Linked DNA regions of Homo sapiens: regions 1, 2, 3, 5, 6 and 7 are each linked to region 4. Evidence: promoter capture Hi-C in 16 types of primary human blood cells and fetal thymus (Javierre and others, 2016). All regions are on one chromosome and are shown on one strand. Each heading gives the region's core, a stretch centred on a gene start or on the middle of the fragment in contact. The rest is flanking DNA. Distances are from core to core; before and after follow the strand shown. Region 1 overlaps FOXP1 (forkhead box P1). Region 2 overlaps FOXP1 (forkhead box P1). Region 3 overlaps FOXP1 (forkhead box P1). Region 4 holds the start of FOXP1 (forkhead box P1). Region 5 overlaps FOXP1 (forkhead box P1). Region 6 overlaps FOXP1 (forkhead box P1). Region 7 overlaps FOXP1 (forkhead box P1).

Evidence for each region. The method cuts DNA at HindIII sites, captures the fragments that hold promoters and counts their contacts. A CHiCAGO score of 5 or more calls a contact.
Region 1: a fragment that was not itself captured here is called in contact with the fragment with the promoter of FOXP1 in region 4 in 2 of 17 cell types (naive B cells and total B cells); the score reaches 6.1 in naive B cells.
Region 2: a contact is called between a fragment that was not itself captured here and the fragment with the promoter of FOXP1 in region 4, in 2 of 17 cell types (total B cells and naive B cells). The highest score is 5.3, in total B cells.
Region 3: a contact is called between a fragment that was not itself captured here and the fragment with the promoter of FOXP1 in region 4, in 1 of 17 cell types (activated CD4 T cells). The highest score is 5.2, in activated CD4 T cells.
Region 5: a contact is called between a fragment that was not itself captured here and the fragment with the promoter of FOXP1 in region 4, in 8 of 17 cell types (naive B cells, total B cells, M0 macrophages and 5 more). The highest score is 8.7, in naive B cells.
Region 6: a contact is called between a fragment that was not itself captured here and the fragment with the promoter of FOXP1 in region 4, in 12 of 17 cell types (naive B cells, total B cells, M1 macrophages and 9 more). The highest score is 19.7, in naive B cells.
Region 7: a contact is called between a fragment that was not itself captured here and the fragment with the promoter of FOXP1 in region 4, in 1 of 17 cell types (total B cells). The highest score is 6.0, in total B cells.

Annotation. Positions count from the first base shown.
Region 1 is chr3:71,267,662-71,271,849 of GRCh38, forward strand. The region is part of intron 5 of FOXP1 (forkhead box P1); the gene reads right to left. Among named protein-coding and RNA genes, the nearest start is that of FOXP1-AS1, 20 kb to the right of the region's middle. The HindIII fragment of the contact is 1,167 bases long and covers 794-1,960 here.
Region 2 is chr3:71,286,395-71,290,381 of GRCh38, forward strand. The region is part of intron 5 of FOXP1 (forkhead box P1); the gene reads right to left. FOXP1-AS1 (FOXP1 antisense RNA 1) reads left to right here and starts at 3,364. Exons shown (of 5, transcript NR_126463.1): 1 at 3,364-3,577. The HindIII fragment of the contact is 9,286 bases long and covers 1-3,987 here.
Region 3 is chr3:71,188,576-71,192,458 of GRCh38, forward strand. The region is part of intron 6 of FOXP1 (forkhead box P1); the gene reads right to left. Among named protein-coding and RNA genes, the nearest start is that of FOXP1-AS1, 99 kb to the right of the region's middle. The HindIII fragment of the contact is 2,188 bases long and covers 656-2,843 here.
Region 4 is chr3:71,582,477-71,586,755 of GRCh38, forward strand. It overlaps FOXP1 (forkhead box P1), which reads right to left and starts at 1,252. Exons shown (of 21, transcript NM_001349338.3): 1 at 1,095-1,252. FOXP1-DT (FOXP1 divergent transcript) reads left to right here and starts at 2,467. Exons shown (of 1, transcript NR_182289.1): 1 at 2,467-4,279. RefSeq lists a silencer at 1,125-1,364 and an enhancer at 1,442-1,736. The HindIII fragment of the contact is 2,384 bases long and covers 126-2,509 here.
Region 5 is chr3:71,161,465-71,165,360 of GRCh38, forward strand. All of the region lies in intron 6 of FOXP1 (forkhead box P1), which reads right to left. Among named protein-coding and RNA genes, the nearest start is that of FOXP1-AS1, 130 kb to the right of the region's middle. The HindIII fragment of the contact is 749 bases long and covers 1,264-2,012 here.
Region 6 is chr3:71,086,807-71,090,704 of GRCh38, forward strand. The region is part of intron 7 of FOXP1 (forkhead box P1); the gene reads right to left. It overlaps LOC124906247 (a long non-coding RNA gene), which reads left to right. Exons shown (of 2, transcript XR_007095956.1): 2 at 1-1,909. Among named protein-coding and RNA genes, the nearest start is that of FOXP1-AS1, 200 kb to the right of the region's middle. RefSeq lists an enhancer at 1,038-1,137. The HindIII fragment of the contact is 2,091 bases long and covers 1,344-3,434 here.
Region 7 is chr3:71,211,156-71,214,886 of GRCh38, forward strand. All of the region lies in intron 5 of FOXP1 (forkhead box P1), which reads right to left. Among named protein-coding and RNA genes, the nearest start is that of FOXP1-AS1, 77 kb to the right of the region's middle. The HindIII fragment of the contact is 6,766 bases long and covers 1-3,731 here.

The DNA.
Region 1 (4,188 bases), core at 127-2,626, 310 kb before region 4:
AAGAGGTTGAACCAGGCAAATATTATCACTTCTGGTAGACAGGGTTAACAGATTACTTAAAAATGTCTGTGTTGGGCCAGGCGCAGTGGCTCATGCCTGTAATTCCAGCACTTCTGGAGGCCGAGGCAGGCAGATCACCTGAGGTCAGGAGTTCGAGGCCAGCCTGGCCAATATGGTGAAACCCTGTCTCTACTATAAACACGAAAATTAGCCAGTCATGGTAGTGGGTGCCTGTAATCCCAGCTATTCGGGAGGCTAAGGCAGAAGAATCGCTTGAACTTGGGAGATGGAGGTTGCAGTGAGCTGAGATCACAGCACTGTACCCTAGCCTGGGCGACAAAGCGAGACTCCGTCTCAAAAAAAAAAAAAAAAAGTCTGTGCTTTAATGATTTTAAAATTATTTCAGCTTCTTTTTTTTCTTTTCTTTTCTTTTTTTTTTTTTTTTTTGAGACAGAGTCTCGCTCTGTCGCCCAGGCTGGAGTGCAGTGGCACGATCTCGGCTCACTGCAAACTCCGCCTCCCGGGTTCACGCCATTCTCCTGCCTCAGACTCCCGAGTAGCTGGGACTATAGGCGCCCGCCACCTCGCCCGGCTAATTTATTTCAGCTTCTAAATTGCCATCAGCTAGATGAAGGAGGCGGAAAATAATTCTAAAAATCAGATACAGTCACATCACAAGGATAAAGTATTCCAAAATGCTTGAGAACTGACAAATGTATTTCCGAGATTCCAAGGGGCAGGAAAAGCCCCAGAAGACTGGGAAAGTTGGGGGGGTAGTGGGATATAATGAAGAAGCTTCAAAAACTGATGAGCCAAGTAATTAAAACCGATCTTCTTCTCTTCCACACCAGGGGCGATACTGAGGGGAAATAATCTTTTTACCATCACTTTGAGAAAAACAACCAACATGGTTTGCTTGGAGACACATCATGCCAGCCCCTCTGACCAAGTGATAAGACAGGTAGATAAAGGGGAAATGAGAGATGTAATCTTACAGACTTCTGTTAGTCCCCTGATTCTGTCCCTTGTGACATTCTCATCAGTGGGCTGGGAAGATGCAAGCAGGCATACCACACCCAAAGGGCGGTTATCGCTGGTGTGCTGTCAACCTGGGGATGTCTAACAAGTGATGTTCCACAGGTGTCCACCTGTCCACCAGGATGATTTAATATCTCTATCACTGAGATATTAAGAGAGAGCTTCCTGTGCCCACTGAGCCAGCCTGGAATCAAATTCCAGGGTCTCCCTATCACCAGCCTGTATCATTACTTCTTTTATTACCCAACATGTAGCCTCGTGGTTCATCTGTGCAGAAGGAAGACAAAAATCTGGGAAGGTAAATGAACGTAGACAGATAGAAACTTCACTCTGCAGTGGCACCACTACCCATGCAGGCCCTTCCTGGACTCACAGCTACTCAGAGTGGGGTTTTTTTTGTTTTTTTTTTTTTTCATTTAATGGCACATGATGATGCACACAAAACTTCAACTCTCAGTCTGGAATCAGCCCACAGGTCTGCAGCTATAAAAATCATCTCGAAAACATGAGATTTCAGAGATCCAGTTCTCAGTGTTACCTTGAAGATGACAATTTATGAAGAAACAGGTGATTTTAATCCGAAATTGCCAGGAAACAAATTACTCCTCAAAAGCCCTTGGAAAGTAATAAGATAGCTAGGCAGAAAAAAAAAGATTCTGCAAAACTAAACTTAATGTGTATTCATCTAGACCTGAATTAAAAATAAAATTCCACTATAAAAAGAATTTTTCAAAATGTTAGGCCCAAGAATATGGCCATATTGTTCCATCTTGAAGAACCCAGTTGATTCAGTTTCATTACTGGCCTCCCCACTCTTCTAAGTAAGTCCCTCACTATAAACATTTACGAATTCCATCTCAGCATTAGTACTAAACAATATTCATTAAGAATCCCGCCAAAGTGCAACATGTAAGTAAATCAAAGCTTTGATGCTCTATTTTGCAAATTTCACGGGCCACTAGGGATAATTAAAAGGGCAATTATATAAAGTTGGTGCAGTTTTGAGAAACAAATGACATTTTCTGCTTTAAAGCACTTGATAATTTGATATTTTGCTATTAGGGCCTTCATGTGTACTTTTATAGACAGGTAGCCAAATAAACAATAAATGTTCCTTAACAGCCTCTAATGATTGTTTTTGCCCACTGATATCACTCACCATTCCAGTCCATAAATCATATGCTAAGAGATTAAGGTAAAGATAATGAAAAAGTATTAGAAACCAATAAGTTAGAGGCAGGGGGGAAAAGGCTGAAAGTGTTGATTTCTTCTATACTTTTTGCCAAAGCACCTAGCAAAGTCTGAGTTTCCGAGTGCTGGAGTGGGTTCGGTTTGTCACTGTGTTTAACCACCGCTCTGAAGCCAGCAAAGTACATTACAGCTCATGAAAAATACAGCGAAGAAACTGCTCGTGGCAGAAGCATTTAACTTCCTTGTTAGCAGCCTCCCCGAGTGGCACTTTTTCACCAGCAAGTTGTTTATTATGTTCGGTGCCAGGCAAAACTGATTAAATGGGGCTCTTAAGAATCAAAGCGTTATAAATTCATGGAAACACAGCAAGCAATAAATTCCATGGAATTAAAAGCTTACTAGTGCTATTAGCATTTCAGGGTGTTTGAACTGTTAATACTGATGTGCAAAAATGATGTGCCTCTACGACAAGGCAGACCACAGCAACACAAGTGACTGGCTCTAAAAACATTTTATCAAAGTGTCACTGGGACCTGGCAGTTGTTAAAGATACAGGAATGGAGGAGGAGAGTAATTATCTTCAAAATTCTCATTTGCCCTAAAAAGTCAATCCCACAGAAGAGAGAAGGCGCCAAATAAAGGTTTACACACAGGAGAAGAACAAGCATAAAAATATTATGCAAAGGATTTATGCTTTAAGTGAATGAAAATTTCGTCTTAACAACCAAGAGGGATGAGAGTTTTATCCTGTAACCTGGTCTTAGCAGGGATGGGGCCCACCGTGTTTTAACTGGGTTGATCTTAATCTTCTTACAGGACAGATAACCCCAGATCAGGCCCTCAAAAAGTTACCAAGTGGAGTGGACACCTTGGCCAATAAATTTTTCTGGTTTGTCATGTTTCATCTTCGACTCTTTCTGGGGGCGTTATAAAGTCTTATTCTAAAGTGACAAGGGGGGAAATCAATTATTATGCCATTAGGCAAGTTATATTCTCCCTCCCAAGGTGCAAGATATGAAGTAAATGCTACTGCACCCATCTGTTTAAAGAATACTTCTAGCTGGGTGTGGTGGCTCACGCCTGTAATTCCAGCACTTTGGGAGGCCAAGGTGGGCAGATCACCTCAGGTCAGGAGTTCAAGACCAGCTTGGCCAATATGGTGAAACCCCGACTCTGCTAAAAATACAAAATTAGCCGGGTGTACTGGCGCACACCTGTAATCTCAGCTACTTGGCAGGCTGAGGCAGGAGAACTGCTTGAACCTGGGAGGTGGAGGTTGCACTGAGCCCAGATAATGCCACTGCACTCCAGTCTGGGTGACAAGATCGAGACTCTGTCTCAAAAAAAGAGAATACTTCCTTCCAACAGAAACATATCTAAAGATCTGTGGTAAACAAATACAAATGTAGGGAGAGAGAAAAGACAAAAAATTAACAAAGACTTCTTAAAGAATTAGTTTTGTTGATAAAAAGTGTTAACGATAATTTTACTTTTTTGGTAAAAGAAAGAATTGCTGCCCACCAATTCGGTGTGATCACTTGAAAACACAACTTAAGAGAAAATTCACTGTAAATCTGGAATTACCAGATTTCAGGAAAAAAGCAATCTAAAGCTGTCAATCTAGACAGACATCCAAACACCTATTCATCCACTCCAGAGCTGGCCAAAAAAGTACTGTTTATTAACACATCAAGAGAACTTAATTCCTTTGATAAAAGAACCACACGGGTAATAGCATCTACTGACGGATCACTGGTACATATGATTATCTCTGGGGCTATGTTCCACATGTGAATATAACATTTGTACTCACTGAAGCTGTCTGTTGCTTCCCTACAGAGAGACAGAGGCTGCTCACGTACCAAAAAATAGAAAGGAGACAAAGAGGAAAAACCTTACAGGGAGAAACTCATAACCACTAATGTGCTTTCACTGGGCTTAAGTCCAAAGCCATGGATT
Region 2 (3,987 bases), core at 845-3,344, 300 kb before region 4:
AATTAGTAACTATATCACTGAGGTATAGCAAAGAAGAGAACTTAAATTTCATACTCTAAAAGCTGTAACTTTTTTAATTTTACAGAGTTAATCTGAATGAAACCCAACCAAAGCAAAATTTGCAACTATAAACAAATTTATATTAATGGCATGTGCTGGGACAAGAGAATGACTGATATTTGGGATAAATTAAACAATGAAAGTATAAATGGCTCTCCTTTGAAAGATACAAAGTTCCTTATCTAACAAGCTGCAAATCAAGTTGGGGAAGTGGGAAAATATCGAGGGAGAATTCAAATCAGAAACAAAACAAAACAAAACAAAAAACTGCCTACCAACTTAATGTCTAGAAATGTTGTCATCAAAGTTGATACAAACTCTACCTCATGCTATCACAGAAAACACATGTACGCAGAGCCAAGCAATGATTTTATGTGCCTGGAATTCATTTGAATATTATTTAAAAGTAGAGGGAGAAACTAGGTGATTATCTAAAATCACAACATCTTTTATGAAACTCACTCAAGAGACTGAGTTATCTCGAGATGTCCAACACAGACGTAGTTACAATCACAAATAACTGGAAGGAATCTAAAGACCCACCAGTTGCAGGTATAGAAAACACAACAGTGGTAGTAATGAACGTAGCTTTAAAAATAAGATGTAGATATATTAAGTAATAACTTGGGAAAACACTTAAGATCGTTTAATGATAAAAGCAGGAAACAAAAAGAGTACATACAGTAAAAGTATATATAGACAAATGTTTTTAAATATGCCATATATAAGAAATAGCCAGGCAAGGTGGGATTACAGGTGTGAACTTCGGAACTTTGGGAGGCCGAGGTGGGTGGATCCCCTCATCCCAGGAGTTTAAGACCAGCCTGGGGAAAATGGCGAAACCCTGTCTCTAAAAACATACAAAGATCAGCCAGGCGTGGTGGCATGTGCCTGTGGTACCAGCTACTCATTGAGGCTGAGGGGAGAGGATCACCTGAGCCTGGGAGGCAAGAGAATGCAGTCAGCCGAGACTGCACCACTGCACTCCAGCCTGGGCGAAAGAGCGAGACCCTGTCTCAAAATAATAATAATAATAGTAATAGGGCCAAGCGCTGTGGCTCACGCCTGTAATCCCAGCTCTTTGGGAGGCTGAGAGGGGCAGATCACTTGAGATCAGCAGTTTGAGACCAGCCTGACAAACATGGCGAAACCCTGTCTCTACTAAAAATACGAAAATTAGCTGGGCTTGGTGGCGGGAATCTGTAATCCCAGCTACTCAGGAGGTTGAGGCAGGAGAATCACTTGAACCTGGGAGGTGGAGGTTGCAGTGAGCTGAGGTCGTGCCACTGCATTCCAGCCTGGGTGACAGAACGAGACTTCATCCCAAAAAATAAAAATAAAATAAAAACAATAACATTAGGATTTAGTTACAATGTTGAACTGTTTAAATAAGGTTACCAATGAAATTTTTCTCACTACTTCTTCTTCATATATATATATTTTGAGACAGAGTTTTGCTCCTGTTGCCCAGGCTGGAGTGCAATGGCACGATCTTGGCTCACCGCAACCTCTGCCTCCCGGGTTCAAGCGATTCTCCTGCCTCAGCCTCCTGAGTAGCTGGGATTACAGGCATGCGCCACCACGCCCGGCTAATTTTGTATTTTTAGTAGAGACGGGGTTTCTCCATGTTGGTCAGGCTGGTCTCGAACTCCTGAGCTCAGATGATCTGCCCGTCTCGGCCTCCCAAAGTGCTGGGATTACAGGTGTGAGCCACCACGCAAGGCCGCTTCCTTTATTTTTTGTTTCGTAAGTGCATTTAAAATTATCCACAAAGAGAAACTGTCCTTCCTTCATCCAACACCATCTTAACAGTATTTAGCATCCATATAGAGATAATGTGTGTTTTTGTAATTAACCTACCATTTCCTGGATGCTTGAGGATTTGCGACTGGCCAAGAAATCTTGAAAATGTTCAACTGTGTTTCACAAGTTTTGAGAAAGCTAGAATCTGTGATGCTCTTAGGTAATCTGAAAGGCAGATGAACCCATCAAAGACTACCTATATTAGTAAAAGGTAAAGGTGATAGACAGACGTGGCTCAGGCTCAAACTAGTATTTTACTAATCTAGAGACTATGTTAACCACACCAATCTGTGATATACTTCAGATGATTACAATCGACATATTCTAAGTTAGGGCTATAAACACATCCCACTTTCCTCTATGCCTTTTATTTAAACTGCAAATCTCCAAACCATCAGATTAGAGAACGGGTCAAGAGGGACAAAATGCCCAGGATTCCTTTTTCACTGCTCACAGGTTGTACTATGACCCAAACTTCACAAAAATGAGTGCAAGGGGTGGGGGAAAATGTGGTAACTGTAACAAACAAGAATGCTGAACAATTACTATTCCTGGAAAAATAATACAAACCATGTAAGTTCAGCCAGCCAGCAGACTGCTAGTTATATAAAGCCAGTAAATATGATAGGAGTGAGATTCAAACACAACTAACTCTTACTAAGGTCATCAATGACTTCCATATTGACAAATCCAATGGTCAGTTCTTTGTCATCATCTTTTTTGACCACTTGGCAGAATTTGATATGGCTCACAACTCTCTTCTTATTTATTTATTTATTTATTTATTTATTTTTTGAGATGGAGTCTCTCTCTGTAGCCCACGCTGGAGTGCAGTGGTGCGATCTTGGTTCACTGCAACCTCCGTCTCCCGGGTCCCAGTTCAAGCAATTCTCCTGCCTCAGCCTCCTGAGTAGCTGAGATTACAGGAATGAGCCACCATGCCGAGCTAGTTTTTGTATGTTTAGTAGAGACAGGGTTTCCCCATGTTGGCCAGGCTGATCTTGAACTCCTGACCTCATGATCCGCCTGCCTTGGCCTCCCAAAGTGCTGGTATTACAGTCATGAGCCACTGTGCCCAGCCTAATTTTGTTTTTTATCTAGAGACAGAGTCACTATAGTCTGTCACCCAGGCTGGAGTGAAGTGGTTATTCACAGGCAGGATCATAGCACACTATAGCCTCAAACTCCTGGACTGAAGCAATCCTCCTGCCTCAGCCTCCTGAGTAGCTGGAACTACAGGTGTGAGCCCCCATGCTCAGCTTTGTTTCCTACTTTAAACACTTACCTTGATGACTTTCTGGTTCACAATCTCAGAGTTTTCATCCCATCTCTGATCTTTCCTGTTCTCAATATTCTATGACTAAAACTTTTAATGGTGTTGGCTTTTTATTTTTATTTTACTTTTTTGAGACAGAGTCTCACTCTGTCCCTCAGGCTAGAGTATTGTGATGCAACTGTGGCTCACTGTGGCCCCAAGCTCCTGGGCTTGAACAATCCTCCTGCCTCAGCCTCCCAAGTGTAGCTGGGACTACAGGCACACGCCACCATGCCCAGCTAATTTTTGTTTTTTTTAATGTAGAGATAAGAGTCTCACTATGTTGCCCAGGTTGATCTCAAACTCCTGGTCTCAAGAGATCCTCCCACCTCAGCCTCCCAGAGTCAGAACCCAGATCCTGGAACTCTTCTTTTCTTCTTCTATACCACTGCTTCCTTGGTGAGTTCAGTCAAGTTTATGCCTTTAGGTATCACTTACATGCTTATAAATCCTGAATTTATAGACCAAGCTAGGACATTTCCAGGACTACATATCCAAATGCCCACTTGGCATCTTAGTCTGGGTGCATAGCTCAAACCTCCCATATCTACAACTACATTCCTGGTCTCCCTTGCTTACCTCCCCTACCTCCAAAACTGCCCCACCCACTGTCTTGCTGTATTTTAGTGATGGGAGCACCACCTTCTATCAGTTCCTTAGAACAGAAAGCATTTGTCTTCTGACTCCTCTGTTTCTGCCCATAAGCAATCCATCAGTGAATCCTATTGATTATATCCCGTCATTCAAGACAAAAATCTTAAGAGTCTTCTGTGATGCAACTTTTTCAAACTCCCCATCAATTTCACTAG
Region 3 (3,883 bases), core at 500-2,999, 390 kb before region 4:
CCCGGCTAATTTTTGTACTTTCAGTAGAGATGGGGTTTCGCCATGTTGGCTAGGCTGGTCTCGAACTCCTGACCTCAGGTGATCCGCCCACCTCGCCCTCCAAAGGGGATTACAGGCGTGAGCCACCAGCTGCTTTGTCTCTTTTAATAGGTGGCTGTGATACTGACAACTCAGTTGTGTTTGTGTGGATAATAAATTCTGAAATTAATGGTCTACCTGAAGAAACTTTGCTGAAGATTAATATGTGTTAGGAAGTTCATTTTATTTTTGGTACAGTCAAAAAGGAGCTGTCTAACAATAGGGATAAAATAGTTAATTCAAGGGGAACACAGGGTTACCAACCTTAAAAAAAAATCCAATATCCTCCACAGTTGGTATCTGCACTATCAGTTTATGCAGAAGATCCTGCAAAATGTCCACATGGAAGGACTAAAGAGAAAAACAGAGCTTGCTTCCTGCCTTCCCTCTCTGGGCATGGCTAAATTTAAATACACAAAGAAGACTGGGCCTTTATGTCCCCAGGCAGTTTAATCTATACCTCCTAAATGAGTCTTCCAATAGCACCAGCTGTTTAATAATTGCACATTGTACTTTTCCAACAAAAGAAACACAACATACGCTCCCCCACCACCTTAAAAACAAAGTCATTATAAGAAGCTTGTGTCAATATGGAACAAAGACTTTATCAAAGATCTAACTTCATAGTTTTGTTCTCTCAAAGAGATAAGCCCATTCCATGATCAATGGGAACACAAGCATTTTATCAGTACTTCCCATGTGACTTTTGGAAGATGTATTCATTAGTAACTGTCAAAGGCTAAATGGAAAATACTTGATAATTTTAACACAAATAAACATATGCAATCAAAATAGTGAGTTTTAGCTACACAGAATGTCTTTCTGTAGAAGTCTTTTTAAAAAATGACTTTTTCAAAATAAGCCCATCCTTTATTATAAGTTCTTAACCTCCTAGTGGCAGCTAAGAAAGGAGTTCAGGTTCTTCCCCATGCCTCTCTCTTTCTGTTTCATTGGTGCCCCCATTTTGCCAGTCATTAAGATGGAACATCCTGACTCATCATTGGTAACTCCCACTCCTTGGTATTTGCATACCTCATAATTCAAAAGGTCCTGTTTTTCCCAACACTCCCCTCAACAATCTCTTCTTATCCAGTCCTTCCTTTCTCTTTCTGTGTCACTCATTCATAAATAGTCTGTCACAGAACTGCCCTACATCAGGTACTGTGCTGTGTGCTGTGGAAGTACCAGGTAATGAGGAAGGTGATCCCGGCCCCCATTCCCTGATGGAACCTAGACTTCACTAAGGGATTCAGATGGAGGAGGAGATGTTCAAGAAGCCAGGAGGGATCAACAACAGGGTGCCCTCAATTCACTGGGGCCACGTTAGTGGCCGATTACTAAATGTCAGACCAACTGCAGTAGCGCTGTCATGGCCACTCATCTCTCCGGGATTTCTTCCCTTCCAAGCCAGCTAGGTTCAACCTTCTCATTTACTTTTAATACACCACCTCTTATATGATCTTTCTTCTCTACTTAGAACCCTCCCATAAGCCGAACCCAATCTGCCTTTTCACCATCTTCCCATCTTCCTACTGCCTCCATAGTTATTCTTCGGGATCTAGCTAAGTAAACTCTAAGTTATTCTCCCATGTTTTCCTAGCACCTAACATATCAGTTCCCCCTCCACCCCCATTTTCTTCCACATACGGAGGCTCAATAAATAATAGTTAAATGAGGCTGGGTGTGGTGGCACATGTCTGTAATCCTGGCACTTTGGGAGGCTGAGGCAGGAGGATCGCTTGAGCCCAGGAGTTCAAGACCAGCCTAGGCAATATAGTGAGACCCATATCTCTACAGGAAAACAAAAAGAAAAACAACAACAAAAAAAAAACAGCTGGCCTGCCGTCCCAGCAACTCAGAAGCCTGATGGTGGGAGAATCGCTTGAGCCCGGGGAGGTAAAGCCTTCAGTAAGCCATGTAAGCCATGATCGCAACCCTGTACTCTCTGTACTCTAACCTGGGTGACCGAGCTAGACCCCATCTCCAAAAAAAAAAAAAAAAAAAAAAAGAAAAAGTTAAATGAAAATATGCAAATGATCAAAGAAATAAATTGCAGCTGTTTTCTAGTGGAGCTCACTTATGAGCCCACTTGCAACAAAGCTGAGACAAGGTCAGTATGGGAAACTCTTCATGACATTTTCTTGTCGGCAGGGGAGGGGAGATAATGTGGCTCTATTTTTATGAATCAAATCAAACACAGTATTTAGCAAAGGGTCTCTGGAATGTTACAAGTAACACTTCATAATTACAATAGATTTGAGTTCAAAGACAAAGTGATGAAAAGAAACTTTCTAACATGGGGTTCAATTCCCTACATAAACTTCCTTCTTGTGGCTCAGTGTACCACTGGCATTTATATTGCTATTCTTCTTTGTCATAAAAGCAGTCACCTTGTAACCCTTTTTATCAAGTAATCTATGCACTACCTAAAAGTACACTAGACTCCATCAGGCGAGCTATAGGTTTACATTATATAAACATTCCAATTCTGCCTGCTCAGCACTAGTTGTTGATAAACGCAAGCCATTGCAAAACAGCAAAGTAGGTTCCTTGCCTTCAGAGAGCAGATAGGACCTGCCAGTTCTGCAAAAACAAACTCTTGGCAATCACTGAAACTAATCTGTCAACAAATTACCATTAAAGTCATACCTCCTGAAAGTTCAAAAACAGACTTGTGAGTAGACAAGAGATAGGGCGTTCTTTTTTTATGATTATTTTTATTAGCTCACCGGTCAGGGCTTAAAATTATCTTTTCAAAGTGGCAAAGCTTTCTCTTGAAGTCAAGAGGGTACACTTCACTCATAATGAAATGTGGCACCTGGCTTTCTATTACCACATTCTCCTCTGTTACAGGTCTTTTTTCTTCTTTTGCTTCTTGTGCCATTTTAATTTTCAATGGAGAGATTAATGACACATAACTGTTTAGTAATCAAAACTTGAAAGAATTTCATACAAGGCTCAAATCACAAGTTACATAAATCTTTGACAACAATATTTTGATGGAAGGCAGGTCTAAACTAACAGAGTAGAGAACTAAATTTAGCATTCAGGGTGAAATATGCCTTTTCTAGAAACAGCCCCAAAGGGAATTAAGAACATGTTGGGGGGTCAGTGTTGTGGCTGCTTTTTCTTTATTTGTCAGAATTATCTGAATCCTGTCTCAGTTTTGTTTCAATTTGTTTGTACGGTTATCACTAACATTTTGGTGGCATTGATTCCTACACAAAATATTTTTGACCATCAATACTTTTCACGTTATTTGAACTATGCAAGGTCTTCAATAAAAGTGTATCTCAGCATAGCAATTCCTTTAAAATTACAGCTGGGTTTTTACCTACTAGCAAGGGAAGGTGCTAGCCCCCAGCACAGTACCTGGCCCCATGAAAGCATTCAATAAATACTAATAATACCTTCTTCTATGCCCCCTTTCTGGAAGTTCCCCTTCTAGGACACAGAGGTGCTGATCAGCTTTTCCCTGTCAGCATCAAGAGACCCTCCTTTCAGACACAGTCAGTCTCCAGCAGCTACAACGGGAAAGGCCAATTGAGGGCATTTCTAACAAAGTTCATAAGCCACCTTTTTCAAAGAAAAAAGTGGTAGAATGGTACGGCCAATCCAGCCATTGCTACCCAGTCTTTACACCTATAGATCCATACCATATAACCTGCGTCATTTCCCATAAGGTATGAAACAAGGCCAGGAATGGCCTCTGGAATTTTAATATGGTGCCCCAGAGGCCTATGGGTAAAAATGAGATCCAAAGAATGAGATGCAATAAGCACCTTCATCCAGTGGTGGTTGCTGC
Region 4 (4,279 bases), core at 2-2,501:
GGGAGGAAGGCTGCGCGCAAGCGAGGGACGGAGAGCCATCGGCCGCCAGGACAGGGCCGGAGGGACGAGGCGACACGCGCGCGACGCAGGACAAATCGGAGCTTGGGAAATCTCCCCGTCCCCCAAGCTTCAGAGGGGGGTAAAATCAGAAAATGTGTGTGATGGTGGGAGAGAGATCCGGGCGCGGCGACTCCTCGCAGCGCATCCGGCTCCCGCACCCACCCGTGGATCTGGCCACGGCTGTTGCGGACTCGTCTCGGGAAAGCGGAGGCCGAGCGCGCGTAGGGGTGCGTGTCTGGCTGGGGGTGCGCAGGTGCGTGTTTGAATTTTCCGGGCTCCGAGGGGGTGGCGGGAGAGCTTCCTCGCCGCTGACTCTCGGGGTAACGCGCGCGTGGCAGCGGGGAAGTTCCCCAGTGCGGGGCCCAGGGCCAGGCACCACAGTCAGTTTGCTGGGGCCCGCGGGGCAGCTCAAGGGCACCGAGGGGGCACACACCCGCGGGGAAAGAAGGGGAAAAGTTTGCTCCAAGTCTAAACTTTGGGCCTAGGAGGCGCCCGGCGCGCGCCCCCTCCCGCCGCGGCCAGGACCCGGGACCCCGCACCGGCCCCGCGCCCGGGCGGCCACCGGACGCCAACGCCGGACATCGAAAGTTGCGCCAGGCGGCCTGGGCTTATTGATTTCTCTCCCCTAGGCGATCGTGGAGAGCGCAGAGAGAGGCGTGAAGGGGCCTACGGGCAGGCGATCTCGCCTCCTCACAGTCGCCACCGCCCCCGCCCCCATTTGACTTATGCAAATAAACCCAAAGGGTGCGGGCGCCGCCGGAGCTCCCTCCACCCGCGCGCCGGCCCGCAGCCCCCACCCATCCCAGAGCTGGGCCTCGACCCGGGGGGGAGAGGAAGAGAGGGGAGGGCTGGGGGAGATGCACGTGGAGCCTGGAGGTGGAAAGTAGTTGTTTTTTTTTTTCCATTTTTTTTCTCTTTTTCTTTCTTTCTTTTTTTTTTTTTGTGCTGGTTGTTGTTGTTGTTTAAAGTGGCGGAAACAAGACAGGAGGCGGCTTGGGAAAAAGTGGAGCAGAAATGGAAAAATACAAACTCACCCGCTGCAAATGGTCTCTCGGTGCAAACTAAGGTGTTTTCGGGCCTTTCCCCGCGCGCGCCCACTCCCGCCCGCGCGCGCACCCCGCGCACACACTCACTCGCGCACACACGCGCGCACACACGCACTCCCGGGCGAGGGCCGGGCCGCCGCGAGTACAGCGTGCAACCGCCACACAATAAATAACAATAGATTCCTCCGCTCCGGACTAGCTTCCCGGAGCCCAGCCAGCGCCGGTGGCGGCGGCGGCGGCGGCAGAGGCGCGGGCAGCACCGGCCCGGGGGCGCACCCCGGCCCGACCCTCTACCTCCCGCAGGGGTCCCCTCTCCGCTTCACGCACCCCGCTGGGCACTCCAGCGGCCCCCCGAGCGGGAGCGGCTCCCTCTTTGCCGTTCGCCGGGGCGCTGGCGCCCACCCCCCTCCTCCCTCCCCCCTCCCCCCCGACATCCCGGAACAAATAAATAAATAAGGCGCGCGAGAGAGGCCAACACGTCGCGGAGGGAGATGTTGTTATTTTTTGCTGTTGTGCGTCCCTGACGTCACATCCACCTGCTGGGTAAACAACCGGGCTCCCAGAAAAAAAAAATCGCAATTGCCAAAGAATGGGGGGGGGGGTTGGGGGGAGGGATCCAGGGAGGGGGAAGTGAGGGGCGTCCAGGCAGGATTGGAAAGAGGAGAGGGAGGCAGAGCCCCGCGGACCAGAGAGAGGAAGGGAACGCCAGAGCAGTCCCTGGCAACAGAGGGATCTGGCAGGAAAGACCTGGAAAATAAGGGGCAGGGGGGCGGAGGGGGAGATTCCTCAGGAGATGGGAAATGGGGGGCCCATTCAGACAGCGGAAAAAACGAGAAGGGAGAGTGTTAACTAGGGACGAAGATGGGAATGCGATGGCTATTTGCTTGGATTCTGAGCTAAAAATATGAAAGGGAGGGGAGAGGACAGGCTAGAATGTGAGTTTCCTCCAGTTAAAAGTGAAAGTGTTTTGCCATCAGTGACAGTTGAAGGAGAGCGGGGTGGGAGGTGGTGTTTTCAACCCCCTTTCTCCCTCTCTCCCGTCCTCCCTCGGTCTCTCCTCTTTCTTTCTGCACTTTGTCCAATGAAAGAAGGCGAGTTCGGGAGGTGAAAGTTCAGCAGAAGGACAAACCCCTGTTTGCAAGGAAACAGAAACCCCGCCAGCCAGCGAGGGGTTTTCTCCCCTGTTTCTCGGAATCAGGAGAGTGTGAATGTGGGACGAGCTTCTGCCCCCTTGTCAGAGCCACTGCAGGAATGTGCAATCGAGTCCACTTTGGGGGAAGGTGGCTGCATCAGGAACTGTGTTCTTGCCACGACTCCTCTTAGGAAAACGCCTGGGGGCTAGCATGTCAGTCCGTTGTTTAACACAAATTACCTGCTCTCCCAGTGATCAGTCACGTGCAAAAAGCTTTGTCCAATTCTTTGAAAAGGTGAGATTTTTTTTTTTCTTTTTGCGGTTTTTGAAGTTTGGTTGAATTTAGAAATTCGAAGGAATAAACTAAGAGCCTGAATTAAATGTTTTGAAATATACATACATAAAACAAAAGACACTAGTATTTCTTTCACTTTTATCAATACGCATAGAGAAGGAAGCAGAGTATGTGTTTCCAAAACGTGACTTGGAAAGCTGTAAGACCTCTATGTCTTGTTGTTGTTGTTGTTGTTGTTGTTAACAGAAGTAAATTTTTTCAGACCCACCACCACAGAAGTGGCCAGACTCCCAAACCAGCATTTCCAGCTACTGGCTGGCTGGTGTACACCAGGCCAATTCTTTATGAGAATATATTAAAAGTCACCCCTGTGGATTCCTACAAAGTACTTCCCCTTGCGGGGAGGGGAGAGGCTTACTGTCCCTTTGGTCTTGAGACCAGCACAGTTGTAGATAATATCCTGAAAAGGTTATTATTAAATTCTTTCGCGTAATGCCCCTTTACAAATATTGTTAAACATTAATTTACAGAAGAACTTAAATCTTAATTTCAAGGGTGGCATAAGACTATCGCTTTGAAATTGTATCTTTCGCAAGTTAAAAAAAAAAAATAACAAAGCCATTCGCTGATGCTACAGAATAAAAGAAAGGGAGGCTGCTAAGGTAATTTCAGCCTGGTAGAATTCACATTGCATGCATGCTGCATAAAGTTCCATGCTATCCAGATAAGACTATTCACTGAATCTTTTAGACTAGAATCTAGACCAATAAAATGCATTTTAGTTTGTATGGAATGTCCTAGCTTCCTAGAGGCTAGGGTTCGACGTCTTGTTTGTCAAGACATAAAGGGATTAATGACATACCCACTGTGTGCTAGACCACAGAGTGGGCACAGAGGGATGAAAAAATAAAAATTCCTGCCCTTGAGGAGCTCACAGTCTAAGCTGTCAATAATAACATCTAACATTTATTAAATACTATGATCTAGGCACTGAACTAAAAGCTTTATGTCAACTCAGTTAATACTGCCAACAACTCTTTGACATCACTGGAAATTCCATATGCTGAATTCACACGGAATTAAGTGGAAATCTACAAAGTAGCCAGTCTACTGGTTCTGTAGTGGTCAACCTATTAAAAATGGTTTTTAATTTCTAAAGTACTTTATGCCAAATATAACATGTTTATGGTATATGCCTGACTGTAGAATTATAACTCAGGGGAATAACGACTTATTTAAATGTAACAGATCTATTCATAGTCTGTAAAGAACAATTCATCCTCTGATCTTGTTTTTCAGATTAAGCAGTGTGTTTATTAAAAATTATTATCATCGCAATACTAAAAAGATCTTTAGATTGCTGCTAATCTGATTCTGCATTTTAACTGCCTTAAATTCTACATTCACTTGCAAGTGGGGGCCACAGTCAGGTTGGCAACAAGTTTTGCAGACAAAAGGAAATCCTGGTTGTAAATCCCATGATATATTGTACTCAATTTTGTATGATACTGTCTAATGTGCTGTGCTGCCTTATTAAAGAACTCGATGTCCATTTGGTTTACATTAGAGGGAAACTTAACTGCAGCTTAACATATTGTTCATTTTCAACACTGTCACGTTACATTCGTGGGGGGCAGATTTTAATTTCTTTATCAGTAATCAACTGGAAGTTTCTTTTTGTTAAATTAAAGCAAGAAAGGTTTTAAAATAAAGGGCATGGGGGTAGGACGCCACCTTTTGGTGATA
Region 5 (3,896 bases), core at 388-2,887, 420 kb before region 4:
TACAGAACAAAGAGAAAGCCACCAGGCTTGGAACTGGCACAGTGTCACTTCCACTGCATTCTACTGCCCAAAGCAAGTGAAAAGCGCAGCTGCCCAGAGTAAATGTGAGAAGGCACTTAGACTCTACCTCTTGAAGAAAGGAATGGAAAAGAATGTGTGGCCACTTTTAATCCACCTGATTCCCTGCATGTCAAGCAAGAGAATTTAAGCTCAATTTCCTAAGAAACAGGGAGCAAGACAATGATGCCATCAGAGTTGTGCTTTACAGAGAATAACCAAATTTTGATGAGTGGGATGAACAAAAACAGTGGATACAGAGATCTGTTAAGTGGTTATAATTTTAGCATCACTTAACAACACATTCAGATGTCCTTAGAGGGAATGGGGAAGTCACAAGAACCACTACATAGATAAAAATCAACAGTGATGAGCACCTATAACTGAAGGCACTGGAGAGAAACTGAGCCAACATTCCACATCACAGCAACTAAAAGAAGGATGCATTATTCACCCAAAAGGGAAAAGCTCCCTTAGTATAGATAAGTTTCAGTTCTGGACCAATTGAGGAAAAATCCCTACCCGCAGTTTATGTGCAGAGTCAAAAAGAATAATGATAGCCACAGGCCAATCGAAGTAGACACCAAGCATACAGCCAGATGTACCTTAAGTGCTTTTTAACCTGGTTTCAATCATCACTTACAATTTTTTAAAATTCTGCTGAACAGGTAGCTCCTCTGAATTAGAAAGTTAAACAGCATTTACCATTAGCAAGCCATTATTTGGAGAGCTGAAACCATATACTAAATTACAGGGTATAAGAGATGCTTAGCTAACTGAAACCTGGCCAAAATACTAGGACAAATGCAACTAAATACTAGCCCAGAATTCTGATTAACCACTGCTTCCCACAGCCTTTGTTCATACATCTCTACTGATATAAGCATTGTCCATATGATCCTTTTAGAAGTTTTATTCTGACTGAAGGGGGAGCCAGTACCATTAAGACATCCAATGTTAAGATGGTTAAGACTTTTTGAATAACTGCCCATTCCAATCCAATATCTATTGGGTTCCTACTATTTGTCAAGCACCAAGGATATAGCAGAGAACGTCATAAACAAGGTCCCCACCTTATTGGAACTTACATTCAGTGGCAAAAGTCAAACTGATAGAGACAGGAGGCACAGAAACTTAGACAGGGGCAGGTGTCTGGTGAAGCCCCACCCATTGTTACTTGCCAACATGTGGAAAAAGAACCCAAAAAGCTTCCTTTGGAACATAGTACCCCTTTATCCACATATGTTAATTAATCAAAGCCCACAGATTAATGAGGTAGGAGACCTTGTCTACTGATAGTCTAGCTACTGGGTACTTGAGTTGAAGGCTGATCTCTTCATTTTTATTTTTTACATTTGATAAAATCTTCCCGGTAGCATTTATTATTCCAGTTACGGCTGTCATCATTTTTCCAAGTACCATCATATGTCTTTCCCCATTAGAAGATGTATCAATGCAACAGAAAGAAACTGAAAAAAGCAAGCTGGTGTTCCATCTAAAATGTGTTTTCTGTAATTATATGCACAAACAAATACAAACTAGAAAGAAAACGGACTTTGAGTTAGAGAACTTTGACGGTAACTAGGATTGGTTTCAACCAAAACGATGCACGTGAATAACAGTTAAATTAGTGGATCTGCTTCCCAAATCTTTTTTTCCAGGCACATCCAGGGTATGTCTTTAACAGTCCTGATACTTCAATGAAAAATTGAGGTGCCAATGATTTATAGGTGAAATTAATGTTAAATACTTCAAAGGAGTGGACAAATAAGTCAGCAGCAAAAATTTTATGAGTTCACTTCCTTCAAGGGAACTTAGAGAGCGGGATTTTATTGCTGTGAATTCTGGTCACCCTTTCTACCCCTCAGCATCTGTTTGAAATATGTAGTAGACAATTGCTTTTTTGGCTGTGACTCAGGTGGTGGAAACACAGGACAAACAGACTACTGTATATAAGCTTTCCTCCAGCACTGAAAAATTTTATTAACTCTCTTGCATAGCAAACGTGGCGGCTGCTCAGTGCCCAATCTCTGCAGCATTATCAAGGAATTTGGCTAATTATGAATCGTGCTGGCCAAGCAAGAGGTGACCATGTTGAAACTTGTCAACTCGATATTTTCTCACATTTCAGAACAAGCAGGGAAACAACAACAACAACAAAACCTTATATTCTGTTTAGTTCATCATTCCTATGTGTAAAATTCCAAGTTAAATATTACATGTGAGCTTGCTACATAAATATGTCAGTCTTGCCACCGAGGCCAGCCAAAACAAACAGTTTCAAGCAGTCCCACAGTTTAGAGCGGTAGAGTTTTCATAGAAGCCATGCACTTGCCCCCTTTTAATCAGTTTTTTAAATTTTTCTCCCATGACAATAGAAAAGTTAGAAAGTAGTCCACAGAGAGTGTGGAGAAAGGGCTTGCTCTCCTTCACAATGGCGACTGTGAGAAGATCAAGGGCTGAATGTCTGCCTGGCAGAACATGAGTCTGTCTGTAAAATTCTGCACAGACGAAAGCTCAATCCCATGCCATCAGTCCAATCCCCAAATAAAGAAACAGAGTTGGTTCCAAAGTAATGAGTAGCCTATATAATCAGATGGTTTCTCTTCCATGTTAGGGCTAGAAATAAACATGGATGCTACCTACAACTTAGACTGCTGTACTTATTTATTTATTTTTATTTTTTATTTTTTTTTGAAACAGAGTCTTGCTCAGTCGCCCAGGCTGGAGTGCAGTGGCGCAATCTCGGCTCACTGCAAGCTCCGCCTCCCGGGTTCATGCCATTCTCCTGCCTCAGCCTCCGGAGTAGCTGGGACTACAGGCGCCCGCCACCACGCCCGGAGAATTTTTTGTATTTTTAGTGGAGACAGGTTTTCACCATGTTAGCCAGGATGGTCTCGATCTCCTGACCTCGTGATCTGCCCGCCTCGGCCTCGCAAAGTGCTGGGATTATAGGCGTGAGGCACAGCGCCCGGTCCCGACTGCTCTATTTAAAGTAATGAAAGCACAGTTGGCTCCAAAGGAGAAAACACATTGCTAGAAACAGTGAATGGAATTTGAACAGAAACTTCCCAATATTAATTCCCAGAGACTAATACATTTTTATAGAAAGTCTATTCACAAAAGGGGAAAGATTATTTTCACCAAAATCTTGTAGCTAATCTCTTCACGTGTACACATTTTTTAGAGACCTGTTTTATGTTTTCTTATAATAAATCTATTGACCATTTTTTCAATGAATAAAGCTTACTTTCTCCCTTCATTCGGAAACTAAGAAATGTTTTATCATACAACCAACAGCAAACTTTCTTTGAACTTCAAATCCAATGTCCCCCCTCTTCCTACATTCCAGCGCATTATACTTGAAATTATTTGCCTCCAAAGTTATAAAGAAAAAAGAGAGTAGTTAAGATGACCAGAGTTACAACTGTTATTTTCTTCCTTAAACCAATTTACATAGCCCTTAAACAAATTTACATAGCCTTTTTCCTAGCTATCCCAAAATGTAGATTCTTCAAGGAATATTTCAGGCATTTAAACGGAAAGTGAACTCCCATGAATTTTGGCAAAAATAATGGAAACAAGGACTGAAACAAAAATATCCAATAAAACACTTTCTCTTTCCTGAAAGGGATGGAAAGGAAATAAAACACACCCTGAAAAGAAGATGATTTTATAAAACGTTACTAGGAATAGCTTTTACCAAATTGAAAGCTATTTTTTTGTAAAAAAAAAAAAAAAAAAAATCAAAACCTGTTTCCCAGAATGACTTCTCTAAAATCATCAGCAGCTCACGAATGTTTTTGTGTTTAATGAACGTTTACCTCATTTAAGCTTTC
Region 6 (3,898 bases), core at 1,139-3,638, 490 kb before region 4:
TCCCGTCCCACTTTCAACTGCAACACATTCAGCTGGAATTACAGGCTACCTCTTCGTCCTGCACTGGGGCATAGAATCTATCTATGCACAACCATGGAGAACAAACATTACAGAGAAAATAATGACTTTGGAAGCACCAGGCACCCTACCCAAACACAAGCTACATGTGTGTTCACAGATGGAAACTAACGGCTGTTTACCCTGAAGGCCCCATAAGAAAAATGCAGTCACCATAACAGTAAAATGCAACTTACTATTCAACATGAAACAAAGTGAGATAAAGAGAGGGCTAGGGACTGAATTCCAACAAAGAGCTCTTATAGTACCTTGGATTTCCTCGGGACAGTCCACACCATTCAAGAGCTGTGCAGGCCCTGAAGAGGTGAGCTGCACAACTGATGAGATCAAAAGACCAAGGCAGGAAAAGGGTTGCAGGTTAGCTCAGTTCTTTGTTGGGTGGGTCAGAGAACAGAACTCATGTGACATCATTTTGTGTCTTGCTCTGGAGGTGCACTTAGCAAAGCCAGAAATCCAATGTTAATTGATCAAACAACGACAACAAAATACCGGTTTTGTCTGGCAAAGGATTATGCAACATATTGATGTAAACGGCATCGAGCCGCATCAGAGGTACTCTGACCATTTCCTTGATGCAACAAATAAGGGCACGCATTCCTTGTCAGTGCATCACAAAATGACAACAAAAGTCATCCAAGGTTTCCTGTTGAGAGATGCCAGCTGGTATTGACAAAGGCTTAAGAGTGTCTTTCTCAGACCTCTGTGGTTTAGCACTTTGTCAAAACAGGATACTATTTAAATTAAAAATTTACTGATTCAAGTTCAGAAAAACCCTGCTTTGCTGTTTTTATAACCAAATTTGTGGGTGGGGAAACTTTGACCTTTATTTTTTCTTTTTTTATGACACCTTATATGGGTCTGAGAAGGTACTATATTTAGCAGGCTAGATTTGAGAACTAAGGTGTCTAAGCAAGATGACTATCACTTTCTATGAATTACTGTACATGTGAAATCATGGGCTTGTTATATTATGCAAAAGCGACTCATGTGAAACAAACAAAAATACCTGTTTGCATGTATAAGTTTTGTAAAATCTTTGTGGGGAGAGAAAGGGGAAATACACACTAGACTAGGCCACGGCATAATGTACCTCCCATGTGAATCTGGCTTAGTGTGCAAATGTATGTTTTCAGAGAAGGCTAAGCCAGGGCTGTAAGACTATGGTCAAAAAAGCAAAGCTGACGGTCAACCATAAGCAGTGCAGTGGTGAGAACCAAGATGCTGGGGAATAGATGGAGTCTCTGGAAATTGCGAAAGAGCAACCAAGCTTGTTTCTGATTGGGGGCTCTTAAACTTGCTCTTCCCCGAACCTGAAACTTTCTTCCCTAGATAGACGCAAGACTCAGTCCCTCACTCAGTCAAGGTCTCTACTCAAAGACCATTTCCTCAGAGTCCTTCCCTGGCCAGCCAGTCAAACATGGGACTGTCATCACCACGGTGTTTATCTTAATCTACTTTGTTTTCTTACAGATTTCATCGTCACACAACATGTGGTGATACATTGTTTTGTTTTTTGTTTTTTTTTTTTTGGCTTACCAGTTTAATGTCCCATAAGAATGTAATCTCCCGGCTGCTTTCTCTGCTGCTCACTCTAGGTGCCTCACTCTAGGTGTCTAGGTCAACACAACCACCCAATAATTTGTCAGATGTTTGTTGAACAGGGAATCTCATGAACAGTCTATTTGAGTTGCGTAAAGGATCTCATTATTTTTCTTGAACTTTCACCTGTCTAGCTAACTATTTATGGGAAAGGTACTAACAAAGTCATTCCAATGATGTCAAAGACTTCTGAGACACCAGAGATGCAGTTAGATATAAATATTAAACTACTTATTTTGCCTTAAAATCACTCTGAGATTATCTTTGAAGGTCTTACAGCTTTGAGAATATGCAACTTCCCATTGTTTAGGGGGAAACGCTGGAGGAAATTTGCATAATTTGAGAAAGAAATCGAACTCACCAAATACCTTAGTGCAGTTCATCTCTTTTGTCAATCTCTCTTTCTTATTAGTACAGGCAAATCTTTTAGTGAAGTGAATAATACTTTGGCCAATGACCTTACGCCAAGAGTACACCAGTGCTCAGGTCACATTTTGACCTTTCTTCCATCCAACATAGCTGAAGGATATGACACTTTATAAACAATTACACTGACTTGCTCTTACTCTGATTCTAAATAGGGCTAATGAGGAGGTTGGAATCAGTGGCACCCAACCTCCGAAACAAGCCCCAAAGATTCTCACCATTTGGTATTCATGCCTTGGATAGTACCTTCCAACACCATGTCAGGGCCGGTCTCTGTGACCAATAAATATGGCAGAAGTAATGGTATGTGATTTCCAAGGCTAGGTCACAACTTGGATCACTCTGGGAAAAGCCAGCTGCCACATCACAAGGGCACTGAAGTCACACTATGGAGAGGTCCACAGCCTGAGAACTTGAGGCCTCCTGCTGACAGCCATGTGAGCGAGCCATCTTGGAAGCGGCTCCCCTAGCCCCAATCATGCCCCAGCCTCACATTTTGACTGCAATCTCATGAGATGCTATGAGCCTGAACCACCCAGCTAAGCCACTCCCCTATCTCTGACTCACAGAAAGTGTGTAAAAGAATAAATGTTTAAACTGTAAGACACTAAGGTTTGGAGTAAATAACAGAGTTATCCAAATCTGATCATGAGGGCAGTTGCATGTCATCTGGCTTGCACACACTTTCTTCCTGCAGGAACACTCTTCCCTGCCCCATCCTTGCCACATGGGGATCACTACTACCCACAGTCCTAGTTAAGAAAGAGGAACTCTAATTTTCACAAGGCAGCCAGTTTAAAAAGACATCAGTCTATAATCAGGGTACAAAGATACAAAGAAATCAAGAATTCCAAAATGCCTGGGCTCTAGCTGGGCCACTATAGCGTGCTGTTGCCTTTGAGACTCTGAGGTGAATCTGTTCATGAAACCTTGAGCCACTTAGAAGAGGGATAGACAGCAGACAGGCAGGCTACTGAAATGAGTTGAAGTCCATGGCAAAGTGGGAATGGGCAGCATTTCTCTGCTCCAGATAACTGGTGCTATGTATATTGCTTGAACTTCTGATTTTTTTCTTTTTTAGGAGATGACAGAAAATGAGATTTTCATGGGAAATCTCCAGATTTTTTAAATCTTTGCAAAGAAAAAGAAAGCCTTCAAAAAGTTCGAACCAAAAAAAGGTTAAATGTTGTGTGCATAAACAAAACAGTATCTAGCCTGCGGGCCATCAGTTTGCAATCTCTAATGGGGAATCAATTCCTTACTTTCTTCAACCTTGCTCCCATCATAAAACAAATCTCTCGATTCCTATTTTCAAGAAATTTCATTTTCTAAGCTTCTTTCACATTTTTCTTGGATATTCCCATGTTTTTCAACTAAACAGTACCTCCCTGTTTGTAACAGAGTTGTCACGATGGCTGTTAGAAAACATTTGCCCCGTTTTTCATAAGTGCAGTATGTAATGTGATAATACAGAAGTGAAAGAACAAGTCTCCTGCAGGTGTGAGGAGAACCACCCTTGGGGGGAAAAAGTAACAGGGCAATGAAGAGTAACAAATTACTCAGTCCCCAGGAGAAGCAAGTCAACTCTAACTAGAAGGCTTGATGAAAAGATAATTTTATAATCCATGCTTCCCTTCCCAACACATCAAGACACAATAAAATGAGCATACTCCCTGATCTTCTTTGCATATATGTAACTATAATGTCAAATAAAAAATAACTGTGCAACTGCCTCCTTAAGAGTGCAGGGAAGAACTAGGAGGGGGTCAGAGTGGGGAAGCATGATCATTGCACT
Region 7 (3,731 bases), core at 395-2,894, 370 kb before region 4:
TCTTCCCCAGCAGTGGTGTTACACTTGCCCTAACCCACATTTAGTTCTATTTTTCCATTTTTATTTTTGAGATGGGAGTCTTGCTCTTTTGCCCTGGCCAGAGTGCAGTGGCGCAATCTTGGCTCACTGCAACCTCTTCCTCTTGGTTCCAGTGATTCTCCTGTCTCAGCTTCCCGAGTAGCTGGGATTACAGGGGTGTACCACCAAAACCGGCTAATTTTTGTATTTTTAGTACAGACAGGGTTTCATCATGTTGGCCAAGCTGGTCTCCAACTCCTGACCTCAAGTGATCTTCCCCCCTTGGCCTCCTAAAGTGCTGGAATTACAGGTATAAGCCACCATGCCGGGCCCACATTTAGTTTTACTTCTATGTACCCAGTTTACTTATTTTATTCCCCATGAATCCCAAATTGTAAAAGTTTTATTTTTAAAAAAGTACATTAAGAAGGCTTTTATATAAGCTGTTCAACAAATTATTTTTAAAATAGAAAATAGTTCTAAAGAGGCCTTGGGCTAACTCAAGATTGGGAAGGACTGATTTTTCTTTTCACAACTCCTCCCCAGAATGAAAATCTTACAAATTCTGAGAATCTCAGAAAGGTTGTGGCATCTTAGTGGACACCGGAGCTAGTTTCCCAAGCCCCATGCATTCACTTTTACTTCTGTCTTCATTATTTTCACCATCTCCATCCACATCTACCATATTGTTATTTTAAAAAATGATTCACTTTTGATAAATAAATCTACCTTCAGAGGAAACTTTGTATCACTTCTTCAAATGGAAAACCAGTATGTAACCCTTTGTAGGTGAGAAAGACTTTTATAATGCATGTTATAAAACCTAACCAATGATATTAAATTCTGCTAGAACCTGCTGTTTCTCAGAGGCTCTGAGTGGAACCATGTTCTTTCTTTGTTAAATAATGAGCTTACAACTGGGAGAGACAGATTAAAGATACTAGTACCAAATTGAGACTTTCTCCTTGGCTTTATCAGAAGGATTAAAAAAGAATTGAAAATGGAATTGCTTCAACATTGAACCACAGTAATGCGAATTGGTGAATGATTTACGAGCCACCAAAAAATCCTCTCCCAACCTATCCGTGAGTGGTACAAGGCTCATATATTGGGCAACTGAGCTACAGGAGACTTAAGAGACCCTCATGAACCTCCACGCTATAATCTTGACCCTTAAGCACTGGATTCCTAACAGTGCAATTCACAAAGCACGTACTGAGGGGCTACATGGACACTTACACTGCTAAAGACATAATCAACCAAGAAGCCAGATTCTTTACACTTGCCCCCAAACCAAATGAGGCTCCTAGTTCATGGGTATTACGCTTGTAGAAGACACCCTAAAAACCAGTAGCTCCAACAATGAGCCTCCCATCCAGGCCTGCCTTTTCTCACACCATCAAAAAACTTGTGCATCAGCCACTTAAGTCATGCCGCCTTTCCACAATACAAGTTCAGAGTTTATTTAGTAGCAAGTAACTACTATAAGAACTATAAGCATATCATTCAAATGCTTTATTGGTCAAAAAGATGAATGCTTTTATTAATCCAACCTTTTTGTAATGGAGTGCCACTGATGACCCAGCATTAGCCTCATTCCCTGCTATTAATCACACTTCTAAGAGCTCATTTTGCCTTAAAATCTTAAGAAATTGCTATAATTTAAAGACATGGTGTCTACGTAATGGGAAATGCTTCATAGATTGTATCATTTCAGAAAATACAGTATATTTTTATGGGAACAATGACATGATGCTAAGGAATTACAAAATGGGAATATATATATATATATATATATATGAATGAATAAAAAGAGAAAAATGTAAGCCTCCTTTCGTATTTGTAGCTTCCCACATCTGTAAACTTTAATCACTACCTTTGTGAAGTCCATTAATCCAAAGGCATGGGCATATAGTTTACATAGATTAAATCCAAAATAACACTCCCAAACAAATGAAAATTAAATGAAGGGAGAAACTCTAATGTAAAAAGAAAGATGTGGAAACACACGGTGTGTTTTAAGAAAATTCCATCAGTGGTATATTCCTCATTCATCATCTGTAATTCCTGTGCCTTGTTTGTCCATGTGAAGACAACTAAGGCAAGCCCTTCAGTAAAGGATTCAGGACAAACTACAGGCATCTGCCTATTTACATTCAGCAGAATTTTAACAATATAATGATGTCCTTAACACATAAGACCTTTTCTCATTAAGCTACCCTTCAAGACCATTTAACACAGCTGAACACTATAAAGAACTGTATCTGAAAGAGTTTTTTCAAAATACAGAGCTAAAGTAAATCTTTTTTAAGGCACCCCTTCAATTTTTACCACCACACAATTCAAATGCAGCATACACATGGCCGGGCATGGTGGCTCACGCCTGTAATCCCAGCACTTTTGAGAGGCCGAGGCAGGCGGATCACAAGGTCAGAAGTTCGAGACCAGCCTGGCCAATATGGTGAAATCCTGTCTTTACTAAAAATACAAAAATTAGCCGGGTGTGCTGGTGGGTGCCTGTAGTCCCAGCTACTCGGGAGGCGGAGGCAGGTGAATCGCTTGAACCCGGGAAGTGGAGGTTGCAGTCAGCCAAGATCGTGCCACTGCACTCCAGCCTGGGCGACAGAGCAAGACTCCATTTCAAAAAAAATAAAATAAAAATAAAATGCAACATACATATGTATATATTCAAATCTTACAAACACATAAAAATGGTAACATTGTGTTACATGATGAATGAAGGGTGCAGTGGGTTCCAATCAGGTACTACGATGATGAATGGATCTAGAGTGAATGGCTGGGAAGTACAAAGAATCAGTCGGCCTAAAAGTCAAGAATGCAGATATTGTCCCTACAGTTAGCAAGGATTGAACTTGGAATCTGAGAAACAGCCAGAAGCTGGTGATAAAGCGTACTTAGGTGGAGCTGGGACAAAAGCATCTGCCTGCTTGGTGAGAGGCAAGTCCAGCTCTGGCTGAGGGGCCCCTTTGCACAGAGATATGCTCCGCCCATCCATCCATGTGCTATCATGTGGTCTAAATAAGCACCTAGACCTTGGATCTCCCCCATGGGGAAGTGCTGAGCCTGGGAGGAGATTTAGAAAGAAACAGAAGTCCTTTATCAAGCTACCTTAATCATGCTGTCACGAACATGCCAACGAGAAAGACAGGGCTTGAGGTGCCCTGAATAGGTAGAACAGGTACCAACAGTGGGGCCACTTCTCTTTGCCTGCTGAGTGCTGGGGCCACTGGATGACTACAGGGTCAACGGCGGGACCATCTGATGTCTGATAATGCCAGATTCTCAACAGGATTCATTCATCAACTAAACACCCAAAGAAACTTTTGAAAGGGTGTTGCTACTCCCTGGCATGCCCATGGTAGCTGTGAGGGGTGGAGGTACTGGACATCTTTGGGACAGGAACAACACTCTAAAATAGGGAATTAAAATTACTAGTCTTCTTCACCTGTAAACGGAGACAACAGGGCTCCTAATAACGAGCATGCTAAATACCTGAGTTAAGATTCATCAAAGATCACAGCCATTGTTGATCACGTTCTCCCCCAAAAGAGAGAGAGGAGCGGGGGAGAGAGGATCATAACCTAGGCACAACCAATTGATGAGAAGAGCCAGTGCATTTATCCAAGAGTAGACCCCTGTGGCACCTTCCAGAGGAGACTAGTACAAGGGATCTGTCTCATGACAAGGGTTTC